Regions from separate parts of the Homo sapiens genome. Here region 2 is linked to region 1. The links are contacts of gene promoters, found by promoter capture Hi-C in blood cells and fetal thymus (Javierre and others, 2016). All regions are on one chromosome and are shown on one strand. The core of a region is centred on a gene start or on the middle of the fragment in contact, and the rest is flanking DNA. Distances in the headings are between cores, read along the strand shown.

Region 1 (6,495 bases), core at 2,356-4,855:
GCCCGGCTAGTTTTTTGTATTTTTAGTAGAGATGGAGTTTCATCATGTTGGCCAGGCTGGTCTCGAACTCCTGACTTCAGGTGATCCGCCCACCTTGGCCTCCCAAAGTTCTGGGATTACAGGTGTGAGCCACCTCATCCGGCCTTATCCCATTCTTGACACCACCAGCATCCAACCCAAGCCCTCCTACAGACTGGCTGATATAGTGAGAACTCAGACTGTGGAGGCAGACAGGCCTGGACACACATTTTGGCTCTATCATGTACTCACTGTTTAATGTTAGGCAAGTTGCTCCACCTCTCTAAGCCTGTTTCTCTCTTTCTTTTTTTTCTTTTGAGATGGAGTCTCACTCAGTTGCCTAGGCTGGGGTGCAGTGGCACAATCTCAGCTCACTGCAACCTCCACCTCCTAGGTTCAAAAGATTCTCATGCCTCAGCTTCCCAAGTAGCTAGGACTACAGGCACACACCACCACACCTGGCTATTTTTTGTATTTTTAGTAGAGAGAGGTTTCACCATGTTGGTCAGATTGGTCTCAAACTCCTGACCTCATGTGATCCGCCCACCTCGGCCTCCCAAACTGCTGGGTTTACAGGCATGAGCCACTGTGCCCGGCCGTTTCTCATTTTTGAAATGATAATAATGCTTATATCACAGAGTGGCTGAAGTGAGAGAGAAATGAGGCCAGGGCATGTGCACAGATCTGCCTGGATCTATGCTGTCCTGCCACGGGTCGTGTGTGTACCTACTGTGCTCGGGGCCAGCAGATGCTCGATATATGATAGCTGTTCACATAAATGTTCTCGCACACAAACGTAAGTTAGCTTAGTTGTTGCCTCCTCTTCTCTCTCAGCTTCCTCTTATTCCCAATTTTCTTCCCTGCCCTCTTACCCAGCTTTTCTTTCTTTTCTTTCTCTTTTCTTTTTCTTCTTCTTCTTTTTTTTTTTTACATGGAGTCTTGCTGTCTTGCCCAGGCTGGAGTGCAGTGGCATGATCTTGGCTCACGGCAACCTCTGCCTCCCGGGTTCAAGCGATTCTCTTGCCTCAGCCTCCTGAGTAGCTGGGATTACAGGCGCACCACCACACCCAGCTAATTTTTGTATTTTTAGTAGAGACGGGGTTTCACCATGTTGGCCAGGCTGGTCTCCAGCTCCTGACCTCAGGTGATCCACCCTCCTCAGCTTCCCACAGTGCTGAGATTACAGGTGTGAGCCACCGGGCCCGGACTTACCCAGCTTTTCTAATTTATTTCCCCTGATAGCTTGGCTTCTTCAAACGCCACTACAAGGAAATGCTGGAGGACAAGCCTGAAGACACTGCCACATTCAGTGGGGACGATTTCAGCTGTGTGGCCCCAAATGTGCCTTTGTCCTAATAATCCACTTTCCTGTTTATCTCTACCACTGTGGGCTGGACTTGCTTGCAACCATAAATCAACTTACATGGAAACAACTTCTGCATAGATCTGCACTGGCCTAAGCAACCTACCAGGTGCTAAGCACCTTCTCGGAGAGATAGAGATTGTAATGTTTTTACATATCTGTCCATCTTTTTCAGCAATGACCCACTTTTTACAGAAGCAGGCATGGTGCCAGCATAAATTTTCATATGCTTAAGAATTGTCACATGAAATGAGGATGTTTATAGCACACTTTCCTTGCGTGGAAGAGCTATAACCCAGGGACCTGAGTGCCTCTCTGGGAATAGTCGGGGGAACCTATTTGTGGGCATTGAAAAAGTTTTTTCACTTTCTATGGTGATGGGAGCCTGAGGTCATCTTTTCTTGATGGGGCTGAGAGGTGTGTATCAGGGGAGAGGGTCAAAGAGTGTGTGTGTGTGTGTGTGTGTGTGTGTGTGTGCATGTGCATGCACGTGCACGCAGGCATGCATTGGTCATGGGTTTCTTCACACACTTCAGGTTCCTCTGTAATGGTAAGTGGGCAGGCTGTCCTAGGAGGTGAAGAAATGTCCAGAGCTCATTTGAACTCCTGTCCCCCTTGAATGAGGTACTCAGAAGCCAGGAGAGCCAGGCTAGGAGCATGTGATTTCCCATATAGAAGACTCATTAAGAAAGATTATAGGCCGGGCGCGGTGGCTCACGCCTGTAATCCCAGCACTTTGGGAGGCCGAGGCGGGTGGATCATGAGGTCAGGAGATCGAGACCATCCTGGCTAACAAGGTGAAACCCCGTCTCTACTAAAAATACAAAAAATTAGCCGGGCGCGGTGGCGGGCGCCTGTAGTCCCAGCTACTCAGGAGGCTGAGGCAGGAGAATGGCGTGAACCCGGGAAGCGGAGCTTGCAGTGAGCCGAGATTGCACCACTGCAGTCCGCAGTCCGGCCTGGGCGACAGAGCGAGACTCCGTCTCAAAAAAAAAAAAAAAAAAAGAAAGAAAGATTATAGAGAATTATCAAAAGATTCCAAATCCAGCATTAGGTCCCAAGGCCTCACACACAGGACTGTGGAGCCTCCGTCTGAAATCCAGAGAGCTGGGATTCACAGACACCAGCAGCTCAGGTGTCAGGCAAGAAGTGGGACTTCAGGATCTGCAGCCCTGGGCTCCCATGGGGGCTCTGCCGAGCTGCCGGAACTTGGACAAGTCATTTAATTCCCAAGAATCTCAGGTCTTCCTCGGGAGAAGGTGAACTAAATTTATACCCTGCTCCCAGCGTTACTGTGAGGATTCGGTGTACGCGGAAGCCCATTACAGCCTAGAGCCCTAATTATTAATAGGTGTGTGTGAGAGGGAGGCCTCATTATTACCAGGTGAGAGACAGGGAGCTGGGATCGCCTACCTGTGAGTGGAGGAGGCTCCCTCGAGCACCTCCGTATCAGCGGCGTGGGAAAAGCACGTGGAGCGCCCACCGCGCTAGGCGCATGCGCGGAGCAGGAGCGCTTACCAAGCTGGGCGCATGCGCGGAGCGGGCGCCTCTGGGCGCGCTCCCCGTGGCCCCGCCCTCCCCACAGAGCCGCAGACTCGAAGCTTCACACCTTTATTGTGTCCGGGGGCGTCCGGGGCCTCAGGGGTGTTCGTAGCCCGTGGGCAGAGGGTTCACGTGGCTATTGTGGAACAGAGTGTGGTTGCCGTCCCCCCAGGGGTAGGGCTGTGGAGAGAGCGGGGGAGGGAGCGCGCGTGAGCGCCGTGAGTCCGGAGTCCGCGCCCCGCGCGACCCCCCCCCCGCAGCACCCCCCCCCGCCCCCGCAGCACCCCCCCCCGCCCCCGCAGCACCCCCGTGCCGCCCGCGCGCCCGTCCCGCGTACCTTGGTGCGGATGCGGAGGTGTTGGTAGGGACGGAACTCGGGGCGCGGGCGGTGGCCCGAGTGGAGATAGGAGTTGAAGGTGCAGAGGGCCACGCTGGGCAGCGCCAGCACGAAGGTCAGCAGACGCCAGGTACGAGCTGCGGACGGAGCGGGGTGAGCGCGGCGGTCCTGGGGCGGCGGGCCTGTGAACAGGTGGGCAGGGTAGGGGAGCCCCCGGATCCGCCCGTTCCCCACTCACCTCCTGCTCCTCCGTGGCCTCCTTTGGCAGCGCTGGCCAAGCCCCGGGTCAGGGGCCTCAGAGGCAAAGCCATGATGGTGCGGGGAGCCGGGAACCAGCGCTGTCCTCGCTCCCTTTCCTGGGGCCTGGGGTCACCTCCCCTCTCTGGGCCAATCACCTGTTGAGTCTGGAGCACTGGCGGCTATTCTTAGGGGTTTCTATATTTAAAATGGGGCCTGACTGGCTTGAGGTCATCTCCAGACAGCTGTTGTCCTGTGCCTCTTATTTTGGCAAGGAGGCATTTAAGTACAATATGCCATTCTTTTTATATAGTTGCAGGGAAACTATTTTGTTCCCTATTCTATGCCTGGTGGCTGGCACACAGTTGGGCTTTAATAAATATTTGTAGAATGAATTAAGTGTCTTTTTGAGTCTCAGTGTTTTCAGCTGTAAAATGTATAATAATTCGTACCTTAAAAGATTTTTTAAATACTGGAGACGGGGATCTCACTATATTGTCCAGGCTGGTGTGGAACTCTTGAGCTCACGTGATCCTCCCGCCTCAGCCTCCCACAGTGCTGGGATTACAGGCATGAGCCACTACACGGCCCTTACATCATTTTTATGAAGTTTATGTAAGGTAGGAATGTGTCAACCTGGATTTTGGCAGGTAACAGTAGTTCAGTATATGTATTAGTCACAGTTCTTTGCAAAGAACAGAACTCACTCTTACTAGTTTTAGAAGATAAGTAATTGAGAATCTTAGGTAGCTTACTATGTCTGATATAGCCAGAGATGCCTACAGTCTGCACAGTCATAAACAAGTCATTCCGTTGGCCAGCTGCAGTGACACCCCCACAGCTCACACTGCTGGACCCTGGATGCCAAAAGCTTCATTAAGGCTGCCCTGGAAAACCAGAATTTTCCACCCTCATCCCCTCTTGAAAACAGATTCTTCATGAAACCTGTATCCTGGGTCGCTCTTTTCTGAAAGAATTATGTGATTGCACCAACTGGCAACCCCTAGGTCCCCCAGCTGCAGGAGGGGATGGGAAACTGAGCTCTGGATTCTGCCTTAGGGAGGCAGGAATTGTAGGGAAAATCTCCAGGTCTAGGATGAGTATTCAAAAGGTTCCAGGCAGCCACAAGCCTGACAGGTGTCTACTGCAAAGTGCATTATTTCAATCTGAAAAATATGACTACTTGGAGAAAGCAAGCCTAGACAGGGCTGGTGTGAACCCTCTATCAAAGCAGGTCACAAGAAAGCCACAAGACCAGGCAGGGATGACATCTGCCTGTTCTGTCCTCAGCAACGGGCAGGGACCTTGGCATGAAGGAGGTGTTCTAAAAATATGTATGTAATGAATGCTTGAACCTTGTTACTTTGGTTAACCCTACAACAATGCCTTTTCAGAATTACAATCCAATAGGAAGCTTCTAGCTTTGATCAAGGGCTGATGTACTAATATGAACTTAATATACAAAAGAAGAATGAATTATATAGACATATAATCTGAATTTAATATATAAAAAAAACGAGGAAGATATATTTTCAAGAAGGGGCTCTATACCTGTTTCTCATTGGTAATAAACTGAACAGTATGTTCCATCCAACTTTAAGCTGCTGCTATTTTTAAAAAAAATAACCTCCTTGAGCAGTCAAATGTTATACAGTGTTACAAAAATTATTCCTGAGCTCTCACTGAGCTATAATAGAATTCTTCCTACAGTTTTTTTCCCAGCTGGACTTTGGCATTGTTGCAGAGAAGATGGGGCCCTATTCCAGTTAAAGATACCTGGCATCTCCCTCTACACATAGCCCCCTCCCTACGTATATAAGATAATGGCTCCTGGAGAAAACAGACATGAAGACAGGTATTTTTACTTGACAAAGTTCTAGAGGCCTGGCATAGTGGCCCACGCTTGTAATCCCAGCACTTTTGGGAGAATGAGGAGGGCGGATCACTTGAGGTCAAGAGTTTGAGTCCTGCCTGGCCAACATGGTGAAACCCCATCTCTACTAAAAATGCAAAAATTAGCTGGGTGTGGTGGCCCGTGCCTGTAATCCCAGCTACTCGGGAGGCTGAGGCAGGAGAATCGCTTGATCCCAGGAGGTGGAGGTTGTAGTGAGCCAAGATTGTGCCACTGCACTTCAGCCTGGGTGACAGAGTAAGACTCTCTCAAGAAAAAAAAAAAGAAGGAAAAAAGGAAGAAAAGGTTCTAGGTTTCTTTTCTCCCCTAAAAGGCCCCTCAGAGTTTTTCTGGTTGCTGCCAAACAATTCCCTGGGAATTCCCATCCCTTTGTTCTCAGCTTGGGAGCTCCTGTGGAGAGGTTTTCTTGCTGGGATGTCAAGAACGCCCTGAGGAGGGCCACTTCTGTCCTGGGCTGCTGTCACCATCACGAGGTGCACTTGCCCAGGTACCCAGAGACCTCCGCTCAGGTGGTCTGTGCTTTTCTGGGCTTGTCACCATCTTACCTGCCTCTCTAGAGGGTGTGCAGAGCTGTCTCTTCCAGGCTGTGCACTCACCATTGTTTCTGTAAGTTCTCACTCACACAGTTCTTAACCTGGCTGCTGCCAACACTTTCAGTTTCTAGAGGTTTAATTTTTCCTCCACTTTAGGCAGAGGGAAGAACAAACTCACCAGGTGCTAAATAAACCCCGGAGGGCAGCATCTCAGCCTCTGTTCAGAGTATCTCAGCTGTTGGTGGTGAAGGAGGTGGAGGCATGACTCAGGGTCAGTTTCTCTTGTGCCCTCTTCCTGGGATGCTGCATACCATGACCACATTTTCTAAAGCAAAGATCGATTACATGTGATCTACTAAGTATAAATGTTTATGGGGGCCCTAGGGACAGCGTATTTGAAATTAGAATAGTCCTGGAAAAACAACTGTGATACAGGACATGGGTTAGCTAGAACGAACAGGTACAGAGAGATGGAGCTCAGACAGCATTGGGGTGGGGTCCAGTGGCAACAGGGACATAGACTCTAAATAAATGGGGCTCTGAGCTCCCTCTG
Region 2 (6,495 bases), core at 2,400-4,899, 81 kb before region 1:
TCTAGAACTAGAAATACCGTTTGACCCAGCCATGCCATTACTGGGTATATATCCAAAGGATTATAAATCATGCTGCTATAAAGACCCATGCACACGTATGTTTATTGCGGCACTATTCACAATAGCAAAGACTAGGAACCAACCCAAATGTCCAACAATGATAGACTGGATTAAGAAAATGTGGCACATATACACCACGGAATACTATGCAGCCATAAAAAATGATGAGTTCATGTCCTTTGTAGGGACATGGATGAAGCTGGAAACCATCATTCTCAGCAAACTATCGCAAGGACAAAAAACCAAATACCGCATGTTCTCACTCATAGGTGGGAATTGAACAATGAGAACACATGGACACAGGAAGGGGAACATCACACACCGGGGCCTGTTGTGGGGTGGGGGGAGGGGGGAGGGATAGCATTAGGAGATATACCTAATGCTAAATGACGAGTTAATGGGTGCAGCACACCAACATGGCACATGTATACATACGTAACAAACCTGCATGTTGTGCATATGTAACCTAAAACTTAAAGTATAATAATAATAATAATAAAAAAAGAAAAATTGGAGGCCAGTCATGGTGGTGCAGTTCTGTAATCCCAGCATTTGGGAGGCCAAAGGGGGCAGATTGCTTGAGCCCAGGAGTTCAAGACCAGCCTGAGCAACATAGCAAGACCTGTCTCTTAAAAAAAAAAAAAAAAAAAAGGGCCAGGTTCAGTGGCTCACACCTGTAATCCCAGCACTTTGGGAGGCTGAGGCTGGTGGATCGCCTGAGGTCAGGAGTTCGAGACCAGCCTGGCCAACATGTCAAAACCTCATCTCTACTAAAAGTACAAAAAATTAGCTGCGAGTGGTGGCGGGTGTCTGTAATCCCAGCTACTCAGGAGACTGAAGCAGAAGAACCGCTTGAACCCAGGAGGCGAGGGCTGTAGTAAGCCAAGATCACACCATTGTACTCTAGCTTGGGCAACAAGAGTGAAACTCCATCTCAAAATAATAATAATAATTAGCCAGGTGTGCTGGTGCACACCTGCGGTCTCAGCTACTCAGGAGGCTGAGGTGGGAGGATTGCTTGAGCCCAGGAGGTCAGTGCTGCAGTGAGCTATGATGGCACCACTGCACTCCAGCTTGGACAACATAACAATACCCTGCCTCAAAGGAAAAAGAAAAAAAAGAAAGAAAAAGAAAAACTGAAACGTTTGGCAATATGAGGCTGCAACAGAACTGCCCTATTAGGCAGGACACGGCTCTCCAATCACTCTGGTCCCCTGACTCCACATAGCACTCTGGCCTCTGAGCCTGGGCAGTTGTTTTTGAGGTGACCTTTGAGACCCTGGCTTCCTCTGTAGCTCAGCTTCTGCTCCGGCCCACCCCTCCCTCTTGAACCTCACATTTCCGAGGTGAGCCACACTTTGGTTGACCAACACGCTTCTGAAAGTGAAAGGCATTGTGATTAGTAATTACCGGAGAAGCCCGGCTTCAACATGGCCTATCTGGGAAGGTCGGGACCTGTCCGCGTTCCCCTAACTCCCTTTCACCTCTCAACCTTTGCCTATGCTGTATCCTCTGCCCAGAACTCACTTCCTTTTCTTGTTCACCTGACCCCTGCCTCAGCTGAAGTGATCTTCCTCCAGATCCTCTTGATCCCCCAGCTGGGAGAAGTTCTGCCTCTCACTTGCTGCCATGGCAACCTGCATTTCTTTTCCTGGAGACTGTACATTCCCAGGGGACAGGAAGCCCCATCACACCCCTAGACCCTAGGACAATACCCAGAACATGTAACAAACAATTGCTGAGAGAGGGAATGAATGAATGAACAGGCCTGGGTTTCCCCAGCTTCCTATTCTCTGTGCACTCTTGAAGGAGAGACAGCTCTCAGACATCCCTTTCCCTTCATCCTAACACATCTTCAGGACCATATAGTATCCAACTGGGCCACTTCACATTTTTCTTTCTTTCTTTTTTTTTTTTTTTTTTTTGAGACAGGGTCTTTCTCTTTCATCCAGGCTGAGTGCAGTGGTGCGATCATAGCTCACTGCATACTTGATCTCCCAGGCTCAAGGGATCCTCCTGCTTCAGCCTCCTGAGTGGTTGGGACTACAGGCCCACATTACTGTGCTAGCCTAATTATTTATTTATTTTTTTGAGACGGAGTCTTGCTCTGTCATCCAGGCTGGAGTGCAATGGCACGATCTCAGCTCACTGCAACCTCCGCCTCCTGGGTTCAAGCAATTCTCCTTCCTCAGCTTCCTGAGTAGCTGGGATTATAGGCACCCGCTACCACGCCTGGCTAATTTTTGTATTTTTAGTAGAGACGGGGTTTCACCATGTTGGTCAGGCTGGTCTTGAACTCCTGACCTCGTGATTTGCCCACCTCAGCCTCCCAAAGTGCTGGCATTGCAGGTGTGAGCCACCGTGCCCAGCCAGTACTAGCCTAATTTTTAAATTTTTGTAAAGTCAGGGTCTTGCTGTGTTGCCCAGGCTGGTCTTGAGCTCCTGAGCTCAAGTGATCCTCCTGCTTCTGCCTCCCAAAGTGCTGGGATTACAGGCATGAGCCACCGCACCTGGCATACTTCACATTTTCTAGAGTCCAAGAGACTGAATATACAAAGGGATAGTGGTCAGACTAGACATAAAAATAGACATCTGCCCCCCAGCCTGCAGCAACCAGCCCAGGAAGCCTATCAATAACTAACAATCAGCCCCATGTCCAGGACTTAATCAATAACTGATGGCTTCCCTAATTTTTGTCCCTACTTCCAACTTAGGACCAACCAGACAAAGCCAAATATGTCCCCTAGTCAATTGCACAGGATGCCCGCTTCCAGTGAGCCACATACAGCTTCCCAGGCCAGCAGCTTCTACTTGGGGCATCCCTGAAGACTTCCCAGTTTCCACTACAAAGCTTTCCTACTGTACTGCCCATTTTTGAGTCTCTGCCAAAACACCAGTGATGGCCACTGACTCCCTTGCTAGAGCCAGCTTTGAATAAATAGACTTCGCCTGTTCTCATTTGGTTGGTCTTTGTGTCTTTCCGCAATCCTCTGGTCCAGCTACTGTGATAAATAGATCAATAGAGCAATTTCCTTTCTGCTTCCTCTGTGGGCATTCCCATCTTGGCGCAGACTTGAACAATTGCTAAAATCCTTCCCCTTATCTGCCCCCTATGCCCCACTGCCATTAAAGGATAAGATCCCTCTGCAGGCTGGGCTGAGTGAATGTGAACGGAATGCATTGGTTGCCAAGTTCTGCCATATACGCATTTGCCTGTTGAGACCAATCCTGCTACCATGCCAGGGCCAGGAGAGAGAAGCTGAGTGGGATGACCCTGCCTTACTCCTCCTCTTTGGAATTCTCCCTCTCTTAATTCACACAGGCATCTCCAGCCCAGCCCCTCCCAGGCACGGCCCCACTGGTTCAAGTTCTCACAGAGACCCTGGATTTCTGCCCTGTTCTGTTCTCTCACCCCACCTTCCTAGGGATTCTCTCACTCCCTCCTTTTACCCTAAAAAGGGATTAAGATGAAATCATTCTGTGGTCACTAGATGTTGTCTGTGCCTGAGACTGAGCGTGGATCCGTTTCAGAGGCCTGCTGGGTTCCCCTACACATGGAAATAAAGAAAAATCTTGAGTTTCTTCAAGGAGAATTCCAGGCACCTTGCTAATCTGGAGAAGTATATGAGCAGCCCGGTAAGCAAGAAGATAACAGTCACTTCAAACAATAGCCAAGGAAGTGAGAGCCACAAGATGTGTGGTTCCCCAGAAAACCAAGGGTTTTAACGTACATCCCTGAGTTGTTTTTCAGAAACCTGGACCCCCACTGTATTAGTCCGTTCTTGCATTGCTACAAAGAACTTCCTGAGACCGGGTAATTTATAAAGAAAGGAGATTTAATTGGCTAATGGTTCCTCAGGCATTATAAGAAGCATGGATGGGGAGGCCTCAGGAAACTTACAGTCATGGTGGAAGGCGAAGAGGAAGGAGTCATGTCTTACACGGCTGGAGAAGGAAAGAAGACAGACCAGGGCGAGGTGCTACACACTTTTAAACAACCAGATCTTGTGATGACTCACTCACTATCACGAGAACAGCAAGGGAGAAATCCGCACCCATGGTCCAATCACCTCCCACCAGGCCCCTCCTCCAACACTGCAGATTATAATCCAACATGAGATTTGAGTGGGGACACAAATCCAAACCATATCACCCCCAGATGGAAAATGCCATCTGCTGGTATGTAGGCCACTGATAAGGAGGAAGTGAAGACTGAACTCTGATCACTATTCTTTGCTCTAAATTTCTTCCTGAGGGCCCTGGAGAGACAGTCACTCCCATAGGCCAGACCTTAATATTCCTTCCTGCTGACCCCAAGTTTTTAGATGAAGCTTTCCTTCCTTAACCAATTGCAAATCAAAGAATCTTTGAACCCATGTATGACTTGTAAGCCTTGCTTCAAGATATCCTGGCTTTTTAGGCCAAACTAATGTATAACCTCCAGGTATTGGTTTATGATTTTGCCTGTAACTTCTGCTTTCCTGAAATGTACCTCGCCCTTAAAAACTCTTGCTTGGAGGGTTAACATTGGGTTAACACCAATTTCTCAGTTGCTGTGTTGATGCTCAAGGCTCACAAGTGCCCCCAATCTCTGGGGAATGGTCTTGCCTGCAGGGGAGTAGCCCCTTCTTCTGTGTGGCAGTGGGATAAGCTAGAGGAAGTGGGGAAGAATGGCTGGTGGTCAATGACTGACCCACCCGGGGAGAACCAAGGGCCACACTTCAGCCTCAAGGAAGGACCCATTCATGCTCACAGCTTCCGGGGACCAGGCTGGAGTCAGGGTCAGGGGAGAGCTCCTTGTCACTTAGCCTCTTTCCCCACTCTATCCTGCTTTCTTCTCCTTGTCTCTCCAATGATGGGCATTGGACACTGAGCAGATACAACCAGGGGTCAGTTCCTGTCTGTGGGTGTAGGACGGATGGGTGATGGGAGGGTGGATGGGTTTGTGTGTGGACAAGTGGACGGATGGAAGGATGGGGTGGAGGGTGGATGGGCAGATGGGTGGGTGGATGGGTGAACAGGTGGATGGGTGGGTGGAGGGAAGCCTCCACCTTCAAATGGAAGCCTTCAAATGGAAGGTGTGGGTGTTGTCACCAACACTGCAAACCCAAGCCCCCTTCTGTGACCACCTCTTTTCTATAATCTTTCCTCTTCTCTCCCTTCTTCCCCAGTTTCTCAGTGACTTGTCTTCACTTCCCCTTTTCTCCTGTGTGTCTATTTCACTGAATTTAAATACAAATTAAATCCATATTCTTCTCATTCTGGTGAAATCGCTTGCCAGTGTGGGAGTCTGAGCAGGGACAGCCCTCATTTCTCCCGGGGCTTTGCCAGCAGGAGCTCCTTCCTCCCTCTTCCCTTTGCTCATGACCCAGCATTTCCCTGTCTGCCAGGGATGCGTTGCCCACATTCCCCAACTTCTCATTGATTTCCTCTGCTTGACTTGTTTCCTGTTGCCTGTTACTCAAGTTAAATCCTTGTTTTATTCTAAATTTACACCAATTCAAGTTAGTTTACCTCTTAGGCGACTCTTGCTTTGCTCCAGGCGGCTTCTGATTCATGCAATTATTGAGCAGGTCTGCAGGTGAGGGGGCTGAGCATTTGGTCCATTTGCTTCAAACCTGTGCAGTCTCTTCTTCACCCACCCATCTACCCATCCACTTACCACCCCATCATTCCATCCATTCACCTGTTCACCCACCCATCTACCCATTTACCCATCCACGCACCACTGCATCCTTCCGCCTATCCACCTGTTCACCCACCCACCCACCCATCTACCCTTCCACCCATCCACTTGTTCACCCACCCATCTACCGATCCACCCACCACCCCATCCTTCCACCCATCCACCTGTTCACCCACCCACCCACCCACCCACACATTTGCCCATCCACCCTCCACCCCATCCTTTCATCCATCCACCTGTCCACACACAAACCTATCCACCCTCCTGTCACCCATCCATCCTACACCCACAGACAGGAACTGACCCCTGGTTGTATCTGCTCGGTGTCCAATGCCCATTGTTAGAGAGACAAGGAGAAGTGAGATGCAGTATCTCCCTTCAATGAACTCTCATCTAGAGAGTGTCATCTTTTATCCTTCACTGAGAAAGACTGATTATTAACTTCCCCTCCCCCACCCTCAGCTTAGAACCATTGCAGCAAATGCTCTTTCCCAGGCACATAACTGAGCCGCAATCGTGACTGGGACTGGAACTATCAGATCCTTGTGTTGCCTGGATAACATTCTGCCATTCTTTCACTTCATTCATGCACCAAGTATGGACTGTGTGCCTCCCATGTATCAGGCATTGTGTGAAGAACTGGGGATAAAAGGGTTAAAACTGCTGGGCGTGGTGGCTCACACCTGTAATCTCAACACTTTGGGAGGCTGAGGTGGTGGGGGTGATTGCCTAAGGCCAGGAGTTCAAGA

What was found. The method cuts DNA at HindIII sites, captures the fragments that hold promoters and counts their contacts. A CHiCAGO score of 5 or more calls a contact.
Region 2: a fragment that was not itself captured here is called in contact with the fragment with the promoter of COX6A2 in region 1 in 5 of 17 cell types (M2 macrophages, M1 macrophages, megakaryocytes and 2 more); the score reaches 8.1 in M2 macrophages.

What each region holds. Positions count from the first base shown.
Region 1 is chr16:31,424,755-31,431,249 of GRCh38, forward strand. It overlaps COX6A2 (cytochrome c oxidase subunit 6A2), which reads right to left and starts at 3,606. Exons shown (of 3, transcript NM_005205.4): 1 at 3,499-3,606; 2 at 3,261-3,397; 3 at 2,977-3,103. The coding sequence starts at 3,571. The coding sequence ends at 3,020. It overlaps ITGAD (integrin subunit alpha D), which reads left to right. Exons shown (of 30, transcript NM_005353.3): 30 at 1,261-1,751. The coding sequence ends at 1,374. The HindIII fragment of the contact is 1,386 bases long and covers 2,981-4,366 here.
Region 2 is chr16:31,343,483-31,349,977 of GRCh38, forward strand. No RefSeq gene overlaps it. Among named protein-coding and RNA genes, the nearest start is that of ITGAX, 8.4 kb to the right of the region's middle. The HindIII fragment of the contact is 1,480 bases long and covers 2,910-4,389 here.